Linked DNA regions of Homo sapiens: region 2 is linked to region 1. Evidence: promoter capture Hi-C in 16 types of primary human blood cells and fetal thymus (Javierre and others, 2016). All regions are on one chromosome and are shown on one strand. Each heading gives the region's core, a stretch centred on a gene start or on the middle of the fragment in contact. The rest is flanking DNA. Distances are from core to core; before and after follow the strand shown. Region 1 holds the start of SMYD3-AS1 (SMYD3 antisense RNA 1). Region 2 overlaps KIF26B (kinesin family member 26B).

Region 1 (5,919 bases), core at 2,052-4,551:
GGAGGATGAAATTTTCCTGTTGAGGATTAGGGTCATGTTTTATTTCACCAAAAAAAAAGCACTAAAAATGAACAATGATCAATGTTATTGTACAGACTCTAGCCTGCTAAATATTATGTGAAAAGGTGCTGTGCCCCCTTGTCTGTGACCCTTCAGCCACAACTCATACAACTCAACTCCTGAACTCCAAGTGAAAGGCCCTGTGCTGCCCCAACCTGCAGAGGGAGAAACACCTTACTGAAATGTCTACAATTTGGAAAGAAAGACTAAAGAGCATGTTGTATGGCTGTAGAAAGAATAACACAGACAACGGATTTATTGCTAATAAAACAGACTAAGAACAATGGGCTGATGAGACTTAACTAAAAAGATGTTTATTCCAATGTTAGAGGTTACCTCAGAGAAGACACACAGAGAAAAGAAATGCCCGAAATGCCAGGTGGAAAGTAATGGGCTTTCCACGGTTAATCAAATGGGCACTGCCATGCCAACGTGCCTCCTGAAATTCAAACCCTCTATTTTTGCATGGCTGCCAACTCATTTCCAAAACATCCACTGCTAATCAAACTTGTTTGGCTGCCTCCTTATCGAAACTTTACAAAACTTTAATTTCAGCCTCATGAGCCCTGCAGCTGTAAATTAATTGAATGAAATTGACAAACATTATGCAGTGAGATAAAGCACTTTCAAAGTCTTTTCCCTATTCAGTTGACTTAGCTGCCCAGCATGCCAGTTTTGCTTGACATGAGTTCAGAATCCCTGGAAACCTTCCTAATCCTACTCTCTAGGCCTTGTGCCTATTCATGGAACCATGTTAACCCATATCCGGAAAATTAATAAACCTCGGATGGGTTTAAGCACTCAAAATACTCCTGATACTTCTTGCCATTCATTACATTGTAGACATCCTTTGCAACAGGAGAATCCTCCTCAAAAGACCACGACGGCAGCAGATAAAATCCCTGAGGTTATAAGCATACAACAAAATGTCTCATTTAAGATTACTGCAGTCTGAAGCCAGGAATTAAATTTGCTGAAGGTGCAGTCACTTATGCCTTAGTTAAATAAAGATAGTCCCAAAACTGATTTCTGAACTTACCCATTTCTCAAAGGGAGTGCAAAATTATCATGATTTTTAAACAGCAAGGCGAGTAAACTGATCGCCTCTGTATCTGCCAACTGAACAAATGAGTCAGCTAATCAGTGGTTACATACATCACACTGACAGAGAGGAGAGAAGACCATTAACTTTCTGAAATGAGAAGTCCTAATATACCGAGGTGCCACAAGTCACTTAGGATTTCCGTGGTTATGAAAGAAGAATTGAAACGTCTCTTCCCTCTGGTGGGTTTTCACAGCACAACTGCCACAGCTTCCAACTGAGGTCTAGTCTCTGACCTTCCCTCTTCATCAATGTTATCAGCATCTGGAAGCCCTCTGGCCTATGTGGAGCCATGGGGACAATGGAGGCAGTTTCAAAGCTTCTGTCTTATGACAGAAAACCTGGGTGTAAAACAACCTCTGATATGAACTACTAAGGGACTTGTATAGATTCCTTAAACTCTCCGAAACACTGTTCTCAACAGCAAAGTGAGGAGAAAAACAGCTCTCAAGTAGGGTTGGTGTGAACGTGAAAAAAGAGAAAGTAATACAAGAGTTGGGCATATAATAGGCTCTTAAAAAGAATTTTGAAGGCCGGGCACGGTGGCTCACGCCTGTAATCCCAGCACTTTGGGAGGCTGAGGCGGGCGGATCACAAGGTCAGGAGATCGAGACCACGGTGAAACCCCGTCTCTACTAAAAATACAAAAAATTAGCCAGGCGTGGTGGCAGGCGCCTGTAGTCCCAGCTACTCGGGAGGTTGAGGCAGGAGAATGGTGTGAACCTGGGAGGCGGAGCTTGCAGTGAGCCGAGATTGCGCCACTGCACTCCAGCCTGGGTGACAGAGCAAGATTCCATCGCAAAAAAAGAAAAAAAAAAAGAATTTTGAAATGGAAATGTATCTATTTTTCCTTTCTTTAGAAAACAAACAGAAAATGAAGCCAACATATCTCATCACAGATTGCTCTTTAAATATGCGACCTTATACCAAAAGCAGACAAGTTCACAAAGAGATTATTTTTATAATTTAATCACAGAAAAGACTAGACTATCAGGTAGTTGGTGGCTACAGAAGTGACTGCTCCCCACTGAAGCAAGGAATGGATAGAATAAGTCCTTGAAATAAATGCTCAGGTCTTCCCTTAGTAATTCTGGACAGTGGGGAAATTAGCTCATTCAAACAAAGTTTATTAAATAAATAAAATCCCAGCACTTGTCTCTTTAGACAAAAACCACATGGAAACAATACAAAAGATTGCTAATGCTTTGGCAAATGAATCACTCTTCCAAATGCCATTTACAAAAGCCCACCAGACCTCCAGCTGTGCTGATGCCATGGGAACCCCTAGGGCAATTATAAGTGGATTTAACTCAAGACCAGAAACACAGGAGTAATTTTTAAAGACCCAAAAACTTCCAAATAAATAAATCTGGAAAGGAATTACTGTTTACACCACAGAGCCACAGGTTCAAATAGCCAAACTTAAAGAAGAAAAAACACACATGTATATATCTACTTCATCATGTAATCTCTGAACAATAGGAACTTTACTGAGTTGTCACTAAGGAAAGAGCAAAATCTAAGATAGGTAGTTTCTGGAAAATGAAAGTCCAGAGAAACTTGGCCATAAAATGAAAATTATAACGGACTTACAGAGCTCGTCTTCTTTGGGTTAAGAAACAAAGGTCTTCTTGTGCAAAGGAAGAATTCGAAAGAGGAATTCTTAAGTAGATGGCTGATGCATCCACGTCTAAACATCCAAAATCTACCAAGCACCTATTACATAACTAAGCCCTGTGTCAGAGGCTGTGGAACAAGAACCACTAAAACTTATCTCTGACCTCAAGAAGTTTATAGTTCAGGGAAGTGACTGACAATCATAATACAGAGGCATAAGGGCTATCCAAATAGGGTCACAGGTTACGCTATGAATACAGGTATCACATCAGAAAATTACCGTACTTAAAATCTCAGCAAAGAGATCACACCCTCACACAATTAATGTTATCAACATCCATCCAGTCTCTCAAGCTCACCCTCTTCAACAATCTTTGCTTTACTGAGTTCCGGGTGGACTATTTAAATATCATACAAATTGATTCTGACATCACAATCACTGCCTGCTTCCTAAAACTTGCCCTCCACCGTCTATTATAAATGCTTTCCAATCAGTGCTCCCATTCTTCATTCTATTCACCACTTAGTTACTAGAATGTTTTTCTCAACTATGAATCTGACTTCACTCCCTTTCTTGAAAACCTCCTGTAGTTCCTGTTGTGTACGGGATAAAGGTCAGACAACTTAGTATAGCCCAGCTCAGTCCAGCTAGCAAAGCAAATACTAGCTTTATTCCCTGCAAGCAACGTAAGACAAAGACAACCACACTAAACTCAGTATTAGCAGACCACCATCCTCCCTGAGGCCTCCACTGCTTTGCACACACTCTTCTCTTTCTCAGAAGGTCCTTTCCCCTCCTCCTGTTGGTGCAGCCAATTCTTTCTCTTCCTTCTAATGCACCATCTTCTGTGTAGTCTTCTTTGACACTAGGTAGGGTTACATCTTTGCTCTGTGTTTCTATAACACTCTTCATATGCCATGGAACTGCATTCATTATATTGGTATAATTTTATTTGTCTTTTTTCTTCCTAGACTGTGAGCCCCTGGAGTTCAGGGACCATTTCTTAATCATATTCCAGAACCTATCACAATGAATGACACGAAGAATATATTTGATAAAAATCTGATGAATGAACCACTCTAAAATGCAACTCTAATAAAGAAAATTACTGCCTATTCAGTTGGAACTGTACCATGTTACAAACGTAAAATTATGTATAGTCTGATAAAGAAATACTATAATAGCCTTGGAAACAGCTCACATACAATTTTTTTTATAAATGGATTCATTACCATATAACTGGACCAGCTTACTGAAGAGTAGCCCTACAGCAGTCACTTCGCAGTTTGCAATTCATTTGAGGTTCAAAGCTAGCTCAAGGGAAAACAACGTTAGTATTAACAAACTTATTTTTAAGCTTAAGGTCAGAATTTAAGGGAAAATAAATAAATATAGTATGTTCTAAGAATCCAAAGGAATTTTTAAAAATTGCCCCCTGCAGCTGTAATTTCTGCATGGATGAGAAAACCTTAATTGCTTGCTGGCTTCCAAGAAAGCCATTAACCTGCATTTAAAAATTCAGCTTTCATCAAGAACAACCTCACATATCCAGCTCTCATGGAAAAAGGAATAGAAGCCTCTGACCTAGTTTTCAATTATTACCAAACTACTGATAATTGATCTCCTGGTCTCCAGGTTTGTTTGTTTTACTAAAATAAATTCCCTCTGGAGCTGCAGGTGCTTACCATGGGGCTGCGCAGGTGGAAAGCAGCCCAGTCTTACTATGAGGATGTCCGTTTGCCATCTGGGAACAAGGAGGAAGAAGCAGAGACCTGGGCAAGACCTCAGAGTAAGTGTCCTTTTTGGCGGCTCCCAGGGGTCCCCATCATGTGTTATAGGAAGGCAGAATTATTTGAGATAAGGATAGGAGCTGAAATAAGCAGTGCTAATACTGGTTAAAAGTTGGTGCTTCAGCTGCAGTCACAACAGATAATGTCTCTTCAGTTATATTTCCAAGCTATTTCTCATTTGGCAATGTACACTTACACCAAAACTGTGAAACTCTCGGAAGTGGCAGACCTTGGCAACAAGTGAATGGAAACTGTGAATTACAGTACATGCCACTGAGTAAGGGGTGCACATCTAGAAACCAGAAATCAGGTTCTGTCTTGGCTCAGCGTCTAACTAGATGTGTGGACTTAGACAAGTCATTTAACCATTGGGGATTCAGTCTCTTCATCTGTAAAGAGTTCATTTAGATGATCTCTTAAGTCCCTAAGATCCCCATTGTTAGGTCCAGGGTCAGGTTCCAGCCCATGCTGAGGCCGGAAGGGAGTGGGTAGATGAATGGCAGACAGCTGAAAGAACACTCAGGGGGCTACGGGTAGGTGAAATACAATTTTATTCAGCAGCTCTCTTACACTGTGTGTCTCGGCTGCTTGTTCCAGCCACTCCCAAGCACAGATCTCTGCTGGCTCTCTCTCCCTTTGGGGTCAACAGCTTAACTCTTTCCCTCTGAGCGCAAGCAAGCTGAGCTGTGTCCTGGCTCCCCGCTGCAAGACAGACAGATCTGGTGCTCTCTCTCTTTCTTTGGGTGCAAGCACGCCTGCACAGTGTCACCAGGGCAATTATACCTTTTAAAGACAACAGTGGCAAAGAGCCAAGTGATGGCCCTCCCATGTTATGGCTACATAGCTGTTTATATTACACATGGAGTTGCGCGCCTGCGCTACAGACTTGCTGAGTCACCCGGGATGTTTACCTCAGCCCATCCTGCCTGGCTGCAGTGCAGCCATGTTCCTTACACCTACCAATTTAAAAGTACTGTAATTCCATTTTAAGGGTTCTAAACCATGAACCATGTTCATGGTTTAGGATTTTAGATATTTCTCATTTAAACTTAGGAGCGAACTCTGCATTAGGACATTTCTCCTTTCATTGTCCATAAGATAACTCACCAAATCCTTGCGCAAAGAGAAACAAATATAAACTACATAAGAAATGACAGGTGAGCCTTACCAAGGACCCTGACCCATGCATAACATCTTAGTATAGCATATATATATATAGTATATGATAGAAACATGCCGTGGGCTTTCATACCCTCTACAATAGTTCATTATAAGTTTCATCCCCCAAAGAAGGCAACTTACATACTTAAGTTTTTCTAAATAGAATCCAGGTGCTTTCACCAGTGATG
Region 2 (5,687 bases), core at 956-3,455, 890 kb before region 1:
ACCAGCCGCTGAGATTTTGTTAGCAGGGAAATCTGTTTCACAGGAAGGAGGGATGTGTAGATGGGACCTAAACATCGAAGTTTATAATTTGGTGAAAACCTGATAAATGGGAAGACCATTTGAAATAGATGTTTCAGTGGCTGGGAGTCCCAGATACCCTTGAATTTAACACTGCTCATTACATACCTCAGTGACCAGAAATTGGAGACCAGCCTGGGCAACATCGCAAGACCCCATCTCTACAAAAAGTAAAAAAAAAAAGAGTCAGGCTTAGTGGTGTGTGCCTGTAATCCCAGCTCCCTGGGAGGTTGAGGTGGAAGGATTGCTTGAGCCCAGGAGTTCAAGGTGACAGTAAGCTGATTGGGCCACTGCACTCCAGCCTGGGCAACACTGTGAGATCCTGCCTCTAAAAACATTTTTTTAATATCATCATAAACTCTGTCAGAAATACAAAGGAGCATAAAGAATGTAACAAACAATCTGTATCCACAATCTGGCCTAATAAATAACACATTACCATCCCATTTGAAGGCTTTTTGCCAGACAGAGGGCAAGTCCTTGAGCGGGCGTCCAGTGCAGGTGTGCTGAAGAGCCCAGCCTCAAGCCTAAAATGGGATAGTACAGGACATGAACATGTGAGGCAAGTGGATCACCTGAGGTCAGGAGTTTGAGACCAGCCTGGGCAACATGGTGAAACCCCGTCTCTAGTAAAAATACAAAAAATTAGCTGGGCTTGGTGGTGCGCACCTGTAATCCCAACTAGTTGGGAGGCTGAGGCAGGAGAATCGCTTGAACCCAGGAGGTGGAGGTTGCAGTGAGCCGAGATTGTGCTGTTGCACTCCAGCCTGGGTTACAAGAGCAAAACTCCGTCTGAAAAATAAATAAGTAAATAAATAACGACATAGAAGACAGAATATGGTAGGCGGTAAAAGGGAAATGCTGAGCAGCAGAATGAGAGTAGTCAGAGTTAAGAAGAGGGAGGCATCTTGGGAGATCGGCTGAATGAGGGCAAACTTGATGAAGGAGGTGGCATGTCAGTTGGGCCACGGAGAACGGGTAGGATTATCTACTTTGTTCTGCATACATCTCCCTAACCCTTCCCTTAAGCTTCTCTTCCAAAGTTTCTCTGGGAAGTTTCTCTTTCCCTTCCCAGACTAAAGCTCTTTCCCTGCTGTTTGTCCTCTCTTGCTTGGCTCAGGCTATGATGGAAAACGTCCTCAGGCTGGGTTTCTGGGTGCCAGATGGCAGCCACCATGGGAGGAAGGGTGGCCGAGTACTCTCAGGGCCCGGCTCCTTGGTGACCAGCCAGGTGCCCTCCAGCCAGCGGCCCCAGCATGACACGGTCCAGGTAACCTCCCTTCACCGTGCTATTGGGAGGGTGTTTTCCAGGACTGGTGTGAAGTAGATTCAGTTCCCGAGAAGGACAGAGCTGCCTGATGCGTGAACAGGCCTCTCTGAGACCAGGGAGGCCACAGCTCTGAGACATGAAGCAGATGCTGCTCCTCAGGGCCTGTGGAGAGAGAACTCTACCCTCTTCCATTTCTGAAAGCCAGTGGAGGCTTCTCCTCCTCTGGAGGATTCATTTCATTTGTTAGTTAACGCATCCATTCCTTCAACATAGATTCATTCCATGTCAGCTCTGCCCCAGGCCTTATGCTGGGCTCGGGGTGTGGAAAATGGAATCGAAGCTGGTCTCTGCTCCTGAGAGGCTTACAGCCCCTTTTAGGGTATGTGCTGGATCTGGAAAGCTGGGATAGAAGAAATTGGGTGACTGTGTATTGTCTTTGTGCTTTTGTGTTTTTTTAGAGGCTTCTATGATCAGAATATTTTTGGACTAATGATGTGAGTTCCTTAGATAATTTGAAAATGTGCCCCTATATTCTCTACTGTTTAGAGTGGTATAATGTTGGCATGACCTCATCTTCCTTTCAAGATTACATATTAAAAGAAAATTTGACTTTATATTAAACGAAGTCAAAGCTGGGTTCAGTGGTGAGCACCTGTTGTCCCAGCTGCTAGGGAGGCTCAGGCAGAAGGATCACTTGAGCCCAGGAGTTCGAGTCCAGCCTGGGCAACATAATGAGACCTTGTCTCTAAAAAAAAAATTAATTAATTAAAAAATAAATAAGTAATAGGAATCAGACCCCAGCATCATAGTTGTGCATATTACCTGTTATTTCTTTAAGAGATATCCCTTCTCCTTGAGTTCCATTTTTATGGGAATTACTTGCTTTAAAAAAAAAAAACACACACACACAAAAACTTCAAAGATACAGCATTGACATGACGATAAACTTCCATTTCTTTAAATAAGCTCCTTGCAACATCTGATGTATCTGTAACAAAAAGAAGGGCAGGAGAAGGAGCTTGCATTTATGTTTATGAACAGGGTAAACTCAGAGACTTGCAACCTTTACCCCGCCCTCCCCCACCCCACCCTCAAGAAGTCCCGAAGAACAAAAGGCAATTCAGATGGCAGAATATTACTTCTGTTGCTGTAGCACCAAACTATTAAAAATAAAACTGTCCCTCAAGGCAAAACATTTCATTTATTTTCCTTTGAATGAGTAACTTGTTTATTAAGATGAACTAAGTGGCTAAATCTAGATGGTACGCAGGCAAGAAAAATTGATGTATTGTAGCCTTTCGGAAAGTATGCTTTATGTTCCCTGGAATCATCTCTGGGTTTTAAATGAAGAAGAGCTCGTTTAGTCAGATGGGGAGCTGCTCTCCCTGGAAATAGGCATCACCCGGCTCTGCAATGTGGAATGTCATATTTGACCTTGGTTCTTTCGCAAATTGGTTCTTTCTGGGCTAAATCAGTGTGTTGAAAGAGTTAGCTAGGTTTAGTGATCTTCAAAGGAGGACCACGTTCCTGCCTCAACTGCGTCTGCAGTTTTTTGAAGTGTTTAATATAAAATCGTTTCACTTTTGCCTTATTTCATATTTGAGATCACTGTGCTACTGCATCTGTTAGAGAGGCAACACAGAGCACAGGGAGCCAACTGCAGTCCCTGGAGCTTCTGAGAGAGCTCCCTTTGTTGCTTCCTGACCCAGCCTCAGAGGCATCCCGCCCACAGGGAAGGATATTTGTCTCAGCAGGGAGGTTCCCCATTACTGTCTCCTCATCTGGGGACACAAATGTGATGTCCAATTCCCCTCTGATTGAGGTCTCATTTGCCCTAAACTAATGCAACTTGAAAGGAGAAAAGGGTGTCAATGGTTAAAACAACAACAATGACAAGAACAACAAAAACCTCCACCCAATTTAGCAGTGAAACAGGAAACGCCGTATTGAGGAGAGAAGCTTTTAGTTGGAAAAAAAATTTCTCTTTAGAATTTGGACAACAAATGACTCTCACTCTCTTTTCTGGTGGTGATTGTTTTATTTGTTAATTTTTTTTTTTTTTTTTTTGAGACGGAGTCTCGCTCTGTTTCCCACGCTGGAGTGCAATGGCACAATCTCGGCCCGCTGCAACCTCCGCTGCTGGGGTTCAAGCGATTCTCCTGCCTCAGCCTCCCTAGTAGCTGGCATTACAGGTGCCCATCACCACGCCCAGCTATTTTTTTTTGTATTTTTAATAGAGACGGGGATTTTTACCACATTGGCCAGGCTGGTCTCGAACTCCTGACCTCAGGTGATCTGCTCGCCTCAGCCTCCCAAAGTGCTAGGACTATAGGCATGAGCCACTGCGCCCGGTCGATTGTTTTATTTTAATATCACGACACACATATTATTCCTGATTTGTAATCTCACGATACCCGCCTTGCTCGCCAAGAGTCCTGAGTGCTGGCCTGGTAAAGATGATTATCTCCATCTTTCAGACGAGGAAACCAAAGTTCAGAGCACAGGTCCGCAGAACAGTCACAGCTGCCAGCAGTTGCACACCCACATGCGCCATCCCATTTGATCATCACCAACCTGCCGGTTAGGTTTTCTTGTCACCCGAATTTTACAAAAGTGGAACAGAAGCACCGAGAGAATAAATGAGCTGCCTGAGATTCATCAACTGCTGGTGGAACTGGGCTTAGTCCTGCATTCTTTCCAAAGCCCCCATGCGGTGACTCAGTATTTGGCCATTTTTCTTTATCCTTTTTGCCTGGTGACTCTGAAGAGAGCCCACCTACAGTCCAGCATGTCTGGATCCTGTGCAGCGGGCAGAGGCCAGAGGCCATGGTGGGGGCCCCAGAACTCAGGCTGGGAATCCCAGGGGCTACTCCAGCTTTCATGTCACCAGAGCAGTGACATTCGGGCCCTCGGGGGCAGACTGTGCCTGTGGCTTCTCAGTGGGGTGCCTTAGGGTCCCCTCAGCAGATGGATCCCATCTCCTGGTCTGGTTAGCATAAGATAAACAGGGATAGTAGCAGCAGTTGTCACTCTGAGGGAGGGAAGGGGAAGGGAGGGCTCAGGTGAAAAGCAGAAGGGAACTCTATGGCTGTCTTTCTTCTCCCTGTTTACCTGTCCACCCATCTGAGAGATAAAAGAAGAGCAGAGGAGGGTGAGTGAGGAAAAAGCAGGAGGGTATTGGGTGTGGGGCCGATGGTTTTCACTCAATCCGCCGGGAGATCTGAATATCAACTCTCTATGGAAGAACAAGAACCGAGGTGTCTCTTCTGCCCCATTTCTAGCCCAGGGTGACCCCAGGAGCTCTGCAGTGTGCCGCATGGAATCGCCTAAGATGGGACTGCCTTGGAACAAACAGTTTCAATGTCTATTTCACATGTGCGCTCTAGCTCAGAATTTTAATAAGCAAATATACATGGTACCTTGCCGTAGGGGGGCTTTATGTTTCTAAATCTATGAATTAATAAACAGGATGAGCCTTTTTAAAAAAGGGAGCTTGGGGCAGAATGAACCACTAAAAAGTTATTGGCTCTTAACTCCTGCTTTTTGTAGAAGCTTGACAGGCAGCTGACTCAGCCAGACCTGAAACCCTTTCCCCGGTTCTTGTTGGCATTTCTGACTTTGCCATTTCAGTTGGCACTGACCCTTCCAAGACTGTGTATGCCAGGAGGGAGCATCTGCCCCCATCTACTCTCTGGGAAGATGTCCTCTCCCAAGAGTCAAGAGTGTCTTGTTCTGACCGTGGGTTACTTCTCTGTGTCTGTCTGAGAGGGGAAAGCATTGTCATCACACAGGAGGTAGCAAATACCTACCTCTTTTTTTTTTTTTTTTTTTTTTTTTTTTTGAGACGGAGTCTTGCTCTGTTGCCCAGGCTGGAGTGCAGTGATGCGATCTCAGCTCACTGCAAGCTTTGCCTCCCGGGTTCACACCATTCTCTCGCCTCAGCCTCCCGAGTAGCTGGGACTACAGGTGCCCGCCACCACGCGCAGCTAATTTTTTAGTTTCACCGTGTTAGCCAGGATGGTCTCCATCTTCTGACCTTGTGATCTGCCTGCCCCGGCCTCCCAAAGTGCTGGGATTATAGGCGCGAGCCACTGCGCCTAGTCTGCTCTGGTTTCTAATAGAAGTAGGTATTTGCAGCTAGGCGCGGTAGCTCATGCCTGTAATCCCAGCACTTTGAGAGGCTGAGGCAGGCAGATCGCTTGAGCCCAGGGGTTTCAGACTAGCCTGGGCAACATGGAGAAACTCCATCTCTACAAAAAATACAAAAAATTAGCCAGGTGTGGTGGCACATGCATGTAGTTCCAGCTACTCAGGAGGCTGAGGCGGGAGGATCACCTGA

What was found. Contacts are between HindIII fragments. The CHiCAGO score rates a contact against its expected background, and 5 or more counts as called.
Region 2: a contact is called between a fragment that was not itself captured here and the fragment with the promoter of SMYD3-AS1 in region 1, in 1 of 17 cell types (naive B cells). The highest score is 5.4, in naive B cells.

What each region holds. Positions count from the first base shown.
Region 1 is chr1:246,105,325-246,111,243 of GRCh38, forward strand. SMYD3-AS1 (SMYD3 antisense RNA 1) reads left to right here and starts at 3,302. Exons shown (of 4, transcript NR_183265.1): 1 at 3,302-3,393; 2 at 4,458-4,569. The region is part of intron 5 of SMYD3 (SET and MYND domain containing 3); the gene reads right to left. RefSeq lists enhancers at 4,727-5,228, 5,229-5,728. The HindIII fragment of the contact is 2,656 bases long and covers 1,480-4,135 here.
Region 2 is chr1:245,213,968-245,219,654 of GRCh38, forward strand. The region is part of intron 2 of KIF26B (kinesin family member 26B); the gene reads left to right. It overlaps KIF26B-AS1 (KIF26B antisense RNA 1), which reads right to left. Exons shown (of 5, transcript NR_151721.1): 3 at 2,171-2,336; 4 at 187-239. Among named protein-coding and RNA genes, the nearest start is that of KIF26B-AS1, 18 kb to the right of the region's middle. RefSeq lists an enhancer at 1-487. The HindIII fragment of the contact is 2,200 bases long and covers 1,106-3,305 here.